Linked DNA regions of Homo sapiens: all the other regions are linked to region 3. Evidence: promoter capture Hi-C in 16 types of primary human blood cells and fetal thymus (Javierre and others, 2016). All regions are on one chromosome and are shown on one strand. The core of a region is centred on a gene start or on the middle of the fragment in contact, and the rest is flanking DNA. Distances in the headings are between cores, read along the strand shown.

Evidence for each region. Contacts are between HindIII fragments. The CHiCAGO score rates a contact against its expected background, and 5 or more counts as called.
Region 1: a contact is called between the fragment with the promoter of PIK3R5 here and the fragment with the promoter of RNF222 in region 3, in 12 of 17 cell types (total CD4 T cells, naive CD4 T cells, naive B cells and 9 more). The highest score is 16.2, in total CD4 T cells.
Region 2: a fragment that was not itself captured here is called in contact with the fragment with the promoter of RNF222 in region 3 in 1 of 17 cell types (neutrophils); the score reaches 5.0 in neutrophils.

Annotation. Positions count from the first base shown.
Region 1 is chr17:8,963,729-8,967,364 of GRCh38, reverse strand. PIK3R5 (phosphoinositide-3-kinase regulatory subunit 5) reads left to right here and starts at 1,658. Exons shown (of 19, transcript NM_001142633.3): 1 at 1,658-1,769. It overlaps PIK3R5-DT (PIK3R5 divergent transcript), which reads right to left and starts at 1,518. Exons shown (of 3, transcript NR_184080.1): 1 at 1,362-1,518; 2 at 1-598. RefSeq lists silencers at 1,245-1,344, 1,415-1,734. The HindIII fragment of the contact is 6,543 bases long and covers 1-3,636 here.
Region 2 is chr17:8,920,817-8,924,665 of GRCh38, reverse strand. All of the region lies in intron 1 of PIK3R5 (phosphoinositide-3-kinase regulatory subunit 5), which reads left to right. Among named protein-coding and RNA genes, the nearest start is that of PIK3R5, 43 kb to the left of the region's middle. The HindIII fragment of the contact is 1,510 bases long and covers 1,311-2,820 here.
Region 3 is chr17:8,396,192-8,399,496 of GRCh38, reverse strand. RNF222 (ring finger protein 222) reads left to right here and starts at 1,670. Exons shown (of 3, transcript NM_001146684.3): 1 at 1,670-1,802. The HindIII fragment of the contact is 4,699 bases long and covers 1-3,305 here.

The DNA of each region.
Region 1 (3,636 bases), core at 409-2,908, 570 kb before region 3:
TGGAAAAAGTGGGGACAGGGGAGACAGAAGACTGGAATCCTTATCAAGTCCTCTCTCAGCCCTTGGTGGCTCTGGTTCCTTCTCTGTGAAAGGGTGACGTGTGGGGAAGGGGTTGGGGATGAGGTAGGAGAGGGGGTCTGAGTTCCTTCCCACGTCTAACGATGGCTGGAACCAGGCCTCTGTGTTCAACCAAGGGTACTTTCTGTTTCTGTCCATTTGGGGAAGTTGCTTTTTCTTGGTATTTCGGGAGTCAGGAAAAGAAAAGTCATTGGTGTTCATATCTCTCAAAGCCTCAGGTAGGGCTGCGGCTTTTGACCAACAATAACGTATGACCATGACCTTGTGGCCGAGTTTGCACGCCTCTAACAGATATTATGACACAGTTCCATTCAATAGTGGAAGTGGAGATTTCAGCGTTGCCCTTTGTTAACCCACAAATGAAGTGCTACTCTTCCATTGTGAGGGCTGTCGGAGCAGTAGCCAACCTTCTTATCCCCATTTTTTAAACGAGGGAAAGGAGGCATAGGAAGCGCAGTGTCTTGTGGGATTCCCTGGGGAGTCCTTCCAACTCTTGGTAGAGCATCATCTGCAACGTCGTCTGGGGGAGAAAAGGGGGAGGCAAGAAGAGGGCCTTGACCCTGGAGGCAGGAACTCCCGCACACCCTCACTCCCTTCCCCAGGGGCTGGGGAAACCACTCAGGTGACAGTAGCCTTGGTGCCGGCCAGGGAGGGCGGGAAGTCCAGCCAGAGGCTGGAACAGCAGTGCTGAACGCCGGGACTGGCTGGTATTTCTATGAAGGTTCCTGCAGAAGGATGCGGGTCAAGGTGCCCGTCTGCACAGCAGTAGTGCAGGCATTTTAAGGGTTAAGGGCACCCAAAGAAAATAGAAGTAGGGGCCGGGCGCAGTGGCTCACGCCTGTAATCCCAGCACTTTGGGAAGCCGAGGCGGGCGGATCACGAGGTCAAGAGATCGAGACCATCCTGGCCAACATGGTGAAACCCCGTCTCTAGTAAAAATACAAAAAATTGGGCGTGGTGGCGCGCGCCTGTAGTCCCAGCTACCCGGGAGGCTGAGGCAGGAGAATCGCTTGAACCCGGGAGGCGGAGGTTGTGGGGAGTCAAGATCGTGCCACTGCACTCCAGCCTGGCGACAGAGCGAGACTCCATCTCAAAAAAAAAAAAAAAAAAAAGAAAGAAAATAGAAGTAGGAAGAGGAAGTGGGTCGCAGTGAGAGAAGGAAGCAGCTCGTCGGAGCTTCCTCTTTCTCGTCTTTCCCCTAAGCCCCTACCCCAGACCTGCCCCCCTGCTCCGCCCAGCCCTCCTGCGGGGCCAAAGCCGCGCTTCCGACGCGGGGGCCTAACCTCCCCTTACTCCTTGGGGGTCGCTGGTGCTCCGCGCTGGTGCCCCTCGGGCCACTGCCATGGACCGGCCAGGGTCTGCTTCTTCCGAGGGCTGGCGGGTCAGAGCCGGGGCTGCTTCTCAGACGCCTTGCGGCCTCGGGGGCGTGACCCAGAGGATGTGGGGCCGGGCGCGCACCTGGCTGACGCTGCCGGGCCGCCAGGTGGCTGGAGAGGCCGGCTCCGCGGTCAGCCCCGCCCCATTAGGCCCCGCCCCCTGACAGGCTCCGCCCCGCCCGCCGGAGGAGCCCAGGCTGGGCAGATGCTGCGGCTCGCCGCGCGGCTCCAGCTGGGGCGCGGTGGTCCCGACGGTCACCCGAATCGCAGGGAGTCGCCGCTGGAGAGGGGCTCGGCGCCCGGCGGGGACTGCAGGTGTGTGACTGGGCGGCCAGGGCGGATGCGGAGGGCACGCATGGGAGCTCCAGGCAGAGCTGGAGCAAGCTGGGGACCGTCGGGGAGAGTGGGCTCCGCGAGCAGCCGCCGCAGCCCGAGGGCTGGACAGATCCTGCTATCTTCCGGCCCCGTGGACCTGGCCCACCGCGGGGGCAGCGGGTCTGCAAACCTGCGCTCCAGATAACCCCAGAGACTTAAGGGGCGTCGCGGGGACCACTTATCGTTATCCGGGTAACCTCTGCTGGGCGGCTCTGCGCAGCTGTGTCCTCAGCCTCCTGCCTCTGACACAGGACGCCCTGTGTCGTAGGGTCAGGTCCCCTGCCCGCTCCAGCGGGGAACTGTCCGTGAGCGTGGGCATCAGGGCTCTTGTGCCGTCAGAACCTGGGAGTCATGGAAGTGCCCGCGTAAGGCGCCCTCCGTCGAGCCTCACTCAGCCTGCTAGTTAGCCAGCCTTGGGCCCAGACGCGGCTGCTGTCCTAGAGAACTGCACGCTTTCTGCTCTCAGAGGATCTGTGTTTACACACTGGACATCCCCGCGTGACTCGTGTGTGTGTGTGTGTGTGTGTGTGTGTGGGCATGCGCATGTGCGCGTGCTGGCCCATCCCGGCCTGGGGTAAATACACAAAAAGTTCAGGTCAGTAGGAGGAAGGAGATTGTTCAGAAGGAAAAGGAAGGCGAGGTTAAAGCAGCAGGATGTGGTATAAAGCGAGTTAACAAGACTCGGAGTAGAGAGGAGGGGTGGGTTTAGGCAGAATAAGGGCTAAAAGTAGGCCAAGCCTGCCTCCAAGGTCCTCTCTGGACTGACACCCTCGTTTTCCTTCTGTGTCTTCTCATCCACCCCACACTTTCCTTCCTGCCCTCAGGACCACCTGTAAGGCACTGGCTCCCAGAGCTGACTGCAGGTAGGGCTCTCTTGGAGCCAACCCTACAACGTGGCTTTCCAGGGATGGGATCTGGAATCTGTAGTTTTCAAAACTTTGAATGAGCTCCTTAAGTGATGATGCTGAAGCCGTTGCTTGGGAACCATGCATGATGTGGAAAAGAGACCCAAGTTCCAACCGGATCCAGCTGTGTGACCTGCAGCATCACACTGTCCCCCAACCCAGCCTCAGTCTCCTGATTCATAAAATGGGCTGTCATACTGACCCATAGAGCTGTGTGGAATTATTATTATTATTATTATTGAGACAGGGTCTTGCTCTGTCACTCAGGCTGGAGTGCAGTGGCGTGATCATGGCTCACTGCAGCCTTAAATTCCCAGGCTCAAGCAATCCTCCGCCTCCGCCTCCCAAGTAGCTGGGATTACAGGTCAGCACCACGGCGCCCAGCTAATTTTTGTATTTTTTGTAGAGGCAGGGTTTTGCCATGTTGCCCAGGTTGGTCCCAAATTCCTTGAGCTCAAGCGATCCGTCTACCTTGGCCTTCCAAAGTGCTGGGATTATAGACATGAGCCACTGTGCCTGGCCCAGTGTGGAAAATTAAGTGAGGCATGTATGATGAGAACGGCTGCACGTGGGAGATGCTCCGTGGATGTTTGTAGAACGCTGGCTTCCGTGTTTCCTCGTTGTGGCTGTGGTGGTGTGGGTCTTTGCCTGTGGACCCGTGGAAGACAAAGAAGACAGTTTTGGATGGTCAAGCTACTTTCTTGCTTCAGGGCTCCCTCCCCTGCTTTTTGAAGCCTCACAAACCAGGACTGTGAGGGCAGGAAGGCTTGGGGTCTTTGTGTGCTGAGCCTCATTAGGGTTTTAAGAACCTCCCTCCTTTCATCTCTAGCTTACGAGAGGGATGATTCATTATCTTCCCTCCTCAGGCTGCAGTAGAAGCAGACAGTCTCTGCCTCCCTGCT
Region 2 (3,849 bases), core at 816-3,315, 520 kb before region 3:
GAGACTAGTGAAGATGTGCCCGTGTCTGAGAACAATGACCTGCTGTTGGATTAATGGAGAGAAGACGGGGTGGTAAATGGTTTATCACTCTGGAAGAGAAGAAAAGCTGTGCAAGGGAAAAGATAATGGATTGGACCAGTCTACCCCAAACTTATTCTGATAGTAAAGCATCTAGAAGTCACAGTGCTCTGGAAGGAGAAAAATCTTCCTTGCCCAAAACTATGAAATATTCATATCTGTCTTACAAACTAGAAATGATTCTACCTGTAGAAAGTGAGCAGCCTGTGTCAGGCTGCAGGTGGCTCACGCCTGTAATCCCAGCACTTTGGGAGGCTGAAGCCAGCAGATTGCTTGAGCTCAGGAGTTCAAGATCAGCCTGGCAACATGGTGAAACCCCACCTCTACAAAAAAAAAAAAAAATTAGCCAGGCATTGTGACATGTGCCTGTAGTTCCAGCTACTTGAGAGGCTGAGGCAGGAGGATCGCTTGAGCCCAGGAGGTCAAGGCTGCAGTGAGGTATGATCACACCACTGCACTCCAGCCTGGGAGGCAGAGCAAGACCCTGTCTTGAAAAGGAAAGGGAAGGGAAGGGGAAGGGAGGGGAGGGGGGGAGGGGAGGGGAGGGAAGGGAAGGGAAGGCTGCAATGTCACAACTGCAATCTTTTTCCACACCCAGAAGGCTGCAGTGAGGTATGATCACACCACTGCGCTCTGGCCTGGGAGGCAGAGCAAGACCCTGTCTTGAAAAGGGAAGGGAAGGGGAGGGGAGGGGAGGGGAGGGGAGGGGAAGGGAAGGGAAGGGTGCAATGTCACAACTGCAATCTTTTTCCACATCCAGAAAAACCAGAAAGCTGCCAATATATGTGTAATTGGCCTTTCTTGAGTTTTTACATTTACATTCATTTGCTGCTTTATTCTCCTGTGCACATTGTCTAACCATTAAGATGGGCTCCATATTTAAAGGTGGTAGGATTAAACAGTCTCCCGTGTAAGTGCCCAAGGTTTAGCCCAGGTGCCCAAAGAATTCGGTTGCTGCCTGGAGCTTATTGCTTGTTTTATTGTTATAGTCTTCCTCTGGTTTCCCAGCTTGGCAGTAATTTCAGTTTGCCCACCCCTGGCTCCAGTATAGCTGCTCTTACTTGCATGGGGAAGCTAAATTGCCTACAGCATACTTCATTTACCAGCTGAGAGAATACTCTGTACCGCAGTCTCCTCATCTGTAAAATGGGGGTAAGGAGTGTCTACCTCACATGGATTTAATGACTTAATTCATAGAAACACCTAGAACGGTGCCTGCCACATAGTAAGCTTTCAATTCCTATTAGCTGCTATTATTAAAATTATTATATGAAAAGGTGACATTGTACATCCTGTTGTCTTTTCGGTACTGTACCTGGGTAGAGTGGACCAGAGAGACCTTAGTTCGAATCCTCTCTGTGCTATCCGTATGTCCTTGGGAAAGTCTTTTAGCCAACAGGAGCTGAACTTCCTCATCTCTGCAAGTTCAGAGTGTCCTAGAGTGGCTCAAAATAAATGAGATCATGTGCTTCAAGCCCTAAGCATGGTATCTGGCCCAGGGTCAGTGCTGTGTACACGTTAGCATCTTTCTCCTTCCCCTCCTTCATCCTCATCCCATTTCTTCTTGGTCTTGACCACAACTGTGGTCTTCCCAGGCATTCCTGTGCCCCTTCCTTGGTAAAGAAGGGCTTGAGCAAAGATGGGGGGAAGTGGGCAGTCTTGCCTCTGCTTCTTCAGTGTTTCTTTCTTTTGGTACATCTCTACTTCATCTTCTGCCTTCCCTGGACCTCCACACCATGTCCACCTACCTTTTCACATTTCCTCCCTCTCCTGGCCCCAGAGTCCTTCTCCTGCCCACTAGCTACCGTCACTGCTGTAACAGACTCATCTGGTGGCTAAATCATCCTCCAAGAATCTTACATCTTGAAAAATAAGCTAGGACAGAGGAAGTGAACAGCCCTAACCCAAGGAGAATGAATCACCAACAATGGAAACTCAGCCAATTTTTATGCAAGACGTCTTCCCTGGAAGCCTCAAATTACAACACTGAGACGAAACAGTACACTCAGCCCTTTAAGTGTCTAGAAACCAGTAGAAATGACTTCCTATGAACACGACATAGGAAAGAACATGGGCTTTGAGAGTCACGCCAACTTTGCACAGACTTCAAGCTCGGGCCATAGGAATTGTGACCATAGGAACTTGAGTGAATAAATGGCTTACCCTCCCTGAGCTGCAGGAAATGTGAATAATTATGATAATGTCACAGGGTGATTATGATTATCAAACTAAGTAATCAATGTCTTGGGGATTAACTGAATGTTAATTCCCAAGACAATGGGGATTGATAATTTGATAATCAATTTGATAATCAATTATGATTATCAAACTAAGTGAAAGCGCCCAACATAGTACCTGACACAGATCAGCCACTCAATAATTACCTTCCTCCTTTTCTTCCTCCCTCCCTCCCTCCTTCTCTCCCACCCTCCCACCTTCCCTCCTTCCCTCCTTCTTTCCTATTCTCCAGGCTGAAACTCATGGAGAATGAACAAATCGGGTGGTTTGTTTTTGTTGTTGAGTTATACAGGAGTTCTTTATATATTCAAGATGGTAGCCCTTAATCAGATATACGATTTGCAAATATTTTCTTCCATAACATGGCTTGCCTTTTCACTCTGTTGATTGTATCCTTTAATGCACAGAGTTTTAAATTTTGATATTTAACTATTTTTTCTTTTGTTGCCTGTGCTTTTTGTGTTATATCCAAGAAATCTTTGACAAATCCAATGTGATGAAGCTTCCCCCAATTTTTCTTCTAAGAGTTTTATAGTTTTAGCACTTTACATTTAGATCTTTGATCCTTTTTGAATTAATTTTTTATGGTATTGAATCTTCCTAACACCAGAATATGTATTTCCATTTACTTTTGCTTTTTCGTGTCCCTCAAACATTTTCTTTATAAAAATATTGCATATTTTTAAAGTTTTTAAAAAAATTTGTATTACTTTTGTTGCTGTTAGAAGTGGAATCTTGTTTCCCCAACATAATTTATTTGCATAGTTAGATAATATTGATTTCTATATTAATTTGTGCCTAACCACTTTACCTAACTCTGTTCTTTGGTATGACCATTTTTCAGTTGATTTTCTTGGGTTTCTATGAACATTTCGAGGGTGAAAAATTATGAATTATGCCAATTCTATAATTGGCAAAGCTATAATTCATGAGCCAGAATGAATGACATATGACATGTAAAGTCTCAGAAAGTACCTCACCCACATATCTGTCCTGAAACTACTCGAAATACTTGAGTGAGCAAGACATGAACCAAAATAAAGGACTTATAAGTAGGAATGGTAGGGTACAAAACAAAACAGTGAGTAATAAAATAAATGAAACTTAAAGCCACTGTCCAAAAATACTGCTGTTATCACAGTTATTACATTTAATGTAAATGTCAAAAACATTGAAAGAACTATGAAGTAGTATAAAATATTTAATACAGGCCGGGTGCAGTGGCTCATGCCTGTAATCCCAGCACTTTGGGAGGCTGAGGCGGGTGGATCACCTGAGGTCAGGAGTTTGAGACCAACCTGACCAACATGGTGAAACCCGTCTCTACTAAAAGTACAAAAATTAGCCAGCCGTGGTGATGCATGCCTGTAATCCCAGCTACTCAGGAGGCTGAGGCAGGAGGATAGCTTGAACCTGGGAGGCAGAGGTTGCAGTGAGCCAAGATTGCGCCATTGCACTCCAGCCTGGGCAACTAGAGCGAAACTCCATCTCAAAAAAAAAAAAAAGAAAAAGAAAAAAGAAAAAAAAATACTT
Region 3 (3,305 bases), core at 421-2,920:
CTATAACCCCAGCTACTTGAGAGGCTGAGGCAGGAGAATCGCTTGAACCCAGGAAGTGGAGGTTGCAGTGAGCCGAGCTTGTGGCCACTGCACTCCAGCCTGGGTGACAGATCGAGACTCTGTCTCAGAAAAAAAAAAATCCCAGATATTGTACTGTATTGTACTGGACATATTTATACCAAAAAGCATTCGTTGTTTGTCTGAAATTCTAATTTACCTGGGCATACTGCATTTTCATTTGCTAATCTAGGACCACCTGGAACTCCCAGGGAAAGAACAAGAGAGACTGTGACGACGGCTTGCACTCACGGATCTCTGTCCATGGTGAAGTGGCCGAGTGCACTGGCCTGACTGTCCTCCCCACCAGCTTCAAGGTGTCCATTAAGCCAGGGCCATGACTGATCGGACAGAAGAGGGGTCATCCTGTGTCATCCTATGGGGTCACACACATGCTGGGCTGTGCCTTGGACCCAGTAACTTACTTTTTCAGAAGAAAACTGGTTTCTTGGGGACCTCCTGAGAGGACTGGGAGGGAATCCTCCAAAATGATTTCCAGTTCCCCGAACTTCATTCCTCCATTATTCTTGATGACTTTTTCTTTTTCTTTGAGACAGTCTCACTCTGTCATCCAGGCTGGAGTGCAGTGGTGCAATCTTGGCTCACTCACTGCAACCTCCACCTTCTGGATTCAAGCAATTCTTGTGCCTCAGCCTCCCGAGTAGCTGAGACTACAGGCTTGCACCACCTTGCCCAGCTAATTTTTGTATTTTTAGTAGCAACAGGGTTTCACCATGTTGGCAAGGCTGGTCTCGAACTCCTGGCCTCAAGCAGTCTGCCCGCCTCAACCTCCCAAAGTGCTGAGATTACAGGCATGAGCCACCATACCCAGTGGATGACTTTTTCTCTAATCACAAAAGAAACATACATTCAGGGTGAAAATGCAAACATCACAGAAATATAAAACTTAGAAAGTCTCTCCAGAGATAACTGCTATTAACAGTCTGATGTGTTTTCTTCCAGCTTTTCCTCTATGAATATGATCATGTATTATTATCTTCATAAATAGAATTGTATTACACAGGCTGTTCTGAAAGTTGCTTCCATTTATCATGATGCCGGGGACTTCTTTCCATATCTGTGTGCATTCCTGCTTCACTGGTCTTACTCGCCTCGTTCTTTATGCCAGTGGTGCTGGGTCTTTGGAGTTCTAAGCGCCTTTGGGTGTTCCATGAATGACAAATGCACACAGGCAGATCCCACAAATATATGACTCTGAGTGTCATAGACTTCCCGAGGCTGATCTACTACTGACCCCTTCACCCTGTGCATGGTGTGAGGATAGGGGTGTGGGGGGAAGATGGGGATCACAGAAATGGGTCCAGGAGGGTGGGAAGGACAGTGTGGGTGACTTTCCTATTGATAGGGAGACCCATGCCTGGGGAGCCTCAGTCAAAGGGGTCCTGGGTCACTGCCTCCACTGTGAGACCCTCTGACTCTCCTGAGCACCCACCCCTGGGCTCCTCCTCAAGCTGGGGGTTCCTCTCCTGGCATCCTCAGCAAGATCACCTGACTCCAGCAGCTGCCAACCCCCTGGGCAACGCCAAAGCCTCCTGGCCTCAAACGGGTTGGGCGACATTCACTTCCTCGCGCTGTCCTCCCGACCTGCTCTGTCATTAGGAATTGCCTCGGCGGTGGCGGTCACACTAACAGCAACAGGAGGAGATCGTGCTGCTGCTCAGCACCTCGGGGTGGCTCAGATCTGCTGGAGGCCCCAGGAGGGAAGGTGGATGCTGCTCTCTCCGGTCCCAGCTAAAGTGAGTCTAGGGGCCTGGATGGGCGTGGGGAAGGAGCTTGGCAATGTTGGAAGGTTGCCAACATTGGAAGGATGCAGGAGAATGAGAGAGAGAGAAATTGAGAGAGAGAGAGAAAGAGATACCTGTGGGTGAGCAACTAGTCACAGCTAAAGCTATAGGACCTTGCACTGGGGCTCCAGGAGGGAATCCCAGGTGCCTGGAAGTATCATTCTGTCCCACTGGCTCCTGTGCTGAGGTGGGGATGGGGGGTGTTTTCTCTGGGGTGGGGACACCTGCCCCCACACTCTGTTCCGGAGATGGGCTACTGCTGTGGGGGAGGCTCAGTACTGGGGCTTCCCAAGGTCAGCTCCCTTGGGCCAGCCATTGCCTTCCCCCTGCCTCCCAGGTGGCCAGAGGGGCATCCTTGTTTAGGGTCACTCTAAACCTAAAGAGGAAGGAACTTTGGGTAGTCACTTTTCTAACAGTGCTATTTCTTCTATTCCTTTGACCAAAGTCTGAAGACAAAGTCTTAAGCTCTGAGCCTCAGGTCCCTTATCTGTAAAATGAAGATAATCCCTACGCCCCAGCCTTGTTGTCAGGATCAGAAGAGGAAGGGATGCAAAATGCCAAGCATATAATTAGGATTCAATAAATGGTCGCTGTTGTAAATAATAATAATTATTTATTATTAGCTCAATACTGGTCCCACTTCACCTAGGAATACTTTCCAGCCCTCCTCTCCCCTCAGTTTCCTAAGGCACCAACAGGGATGCTTTGGCACTTACTGCATTCTTCTTCAACTCGTTTGTGCTCAAACTAGAGTATGTTCCTTGCATTTCTTCTGTTGCCCTCTCCCTCACCCCAGCATCCAAACAGAATCATACCATAAGAGGAACTCAAGGATGGGGAATGGAATGGGATTCAGAAAGCGAGAGAGGCAGAGGGAGGGGTCAGGGAAAGACTGAGAAAGGGAGGCAAGAAGGTGGGGAAGGAGGTAGCATCGTCCAGGTGTTGACGGCGTGGCTCTCCGGAAGCACGGGACGGGGGAAGGATTGCCCAGAGAGGCCATCGTTGGAAGCGGGAAGGACTGTCCAGAGAGGCCATCATTGGAAGGGGGAAGGATTGTCCGGAGAGGCCATCGTTGTAAGAGGGAAGGATTGCCCAGAGAGGCCATTGTTGGAAGGGAGAAGGATTGCCCAGAGAGGCCATCATTGGGGCCTCGGATGTCTTCTGCACTCCCTGGGTCCTTTTTACTTTTCCTCTAACTCGGATGAAAAGTAGAGGCTCTCCTTCTCCTTCCCTGCTCGTCTCAAGGAGGACGGTGCTTTCTAACTTGGCTAATACCTACTCACCCAATCTATCAGCTGATTCTAACAATGTTCTACCATCTACGGAATCTTCTCTGTCTCGGTTAACTCCCTCTCCGTCACCTTCACCGGTCACCTCAGGTGACTCACTTCCCTCTCTCTAGACATGGATCTGCTCATCTCTGAAACTAGGAGCTTCAACTAA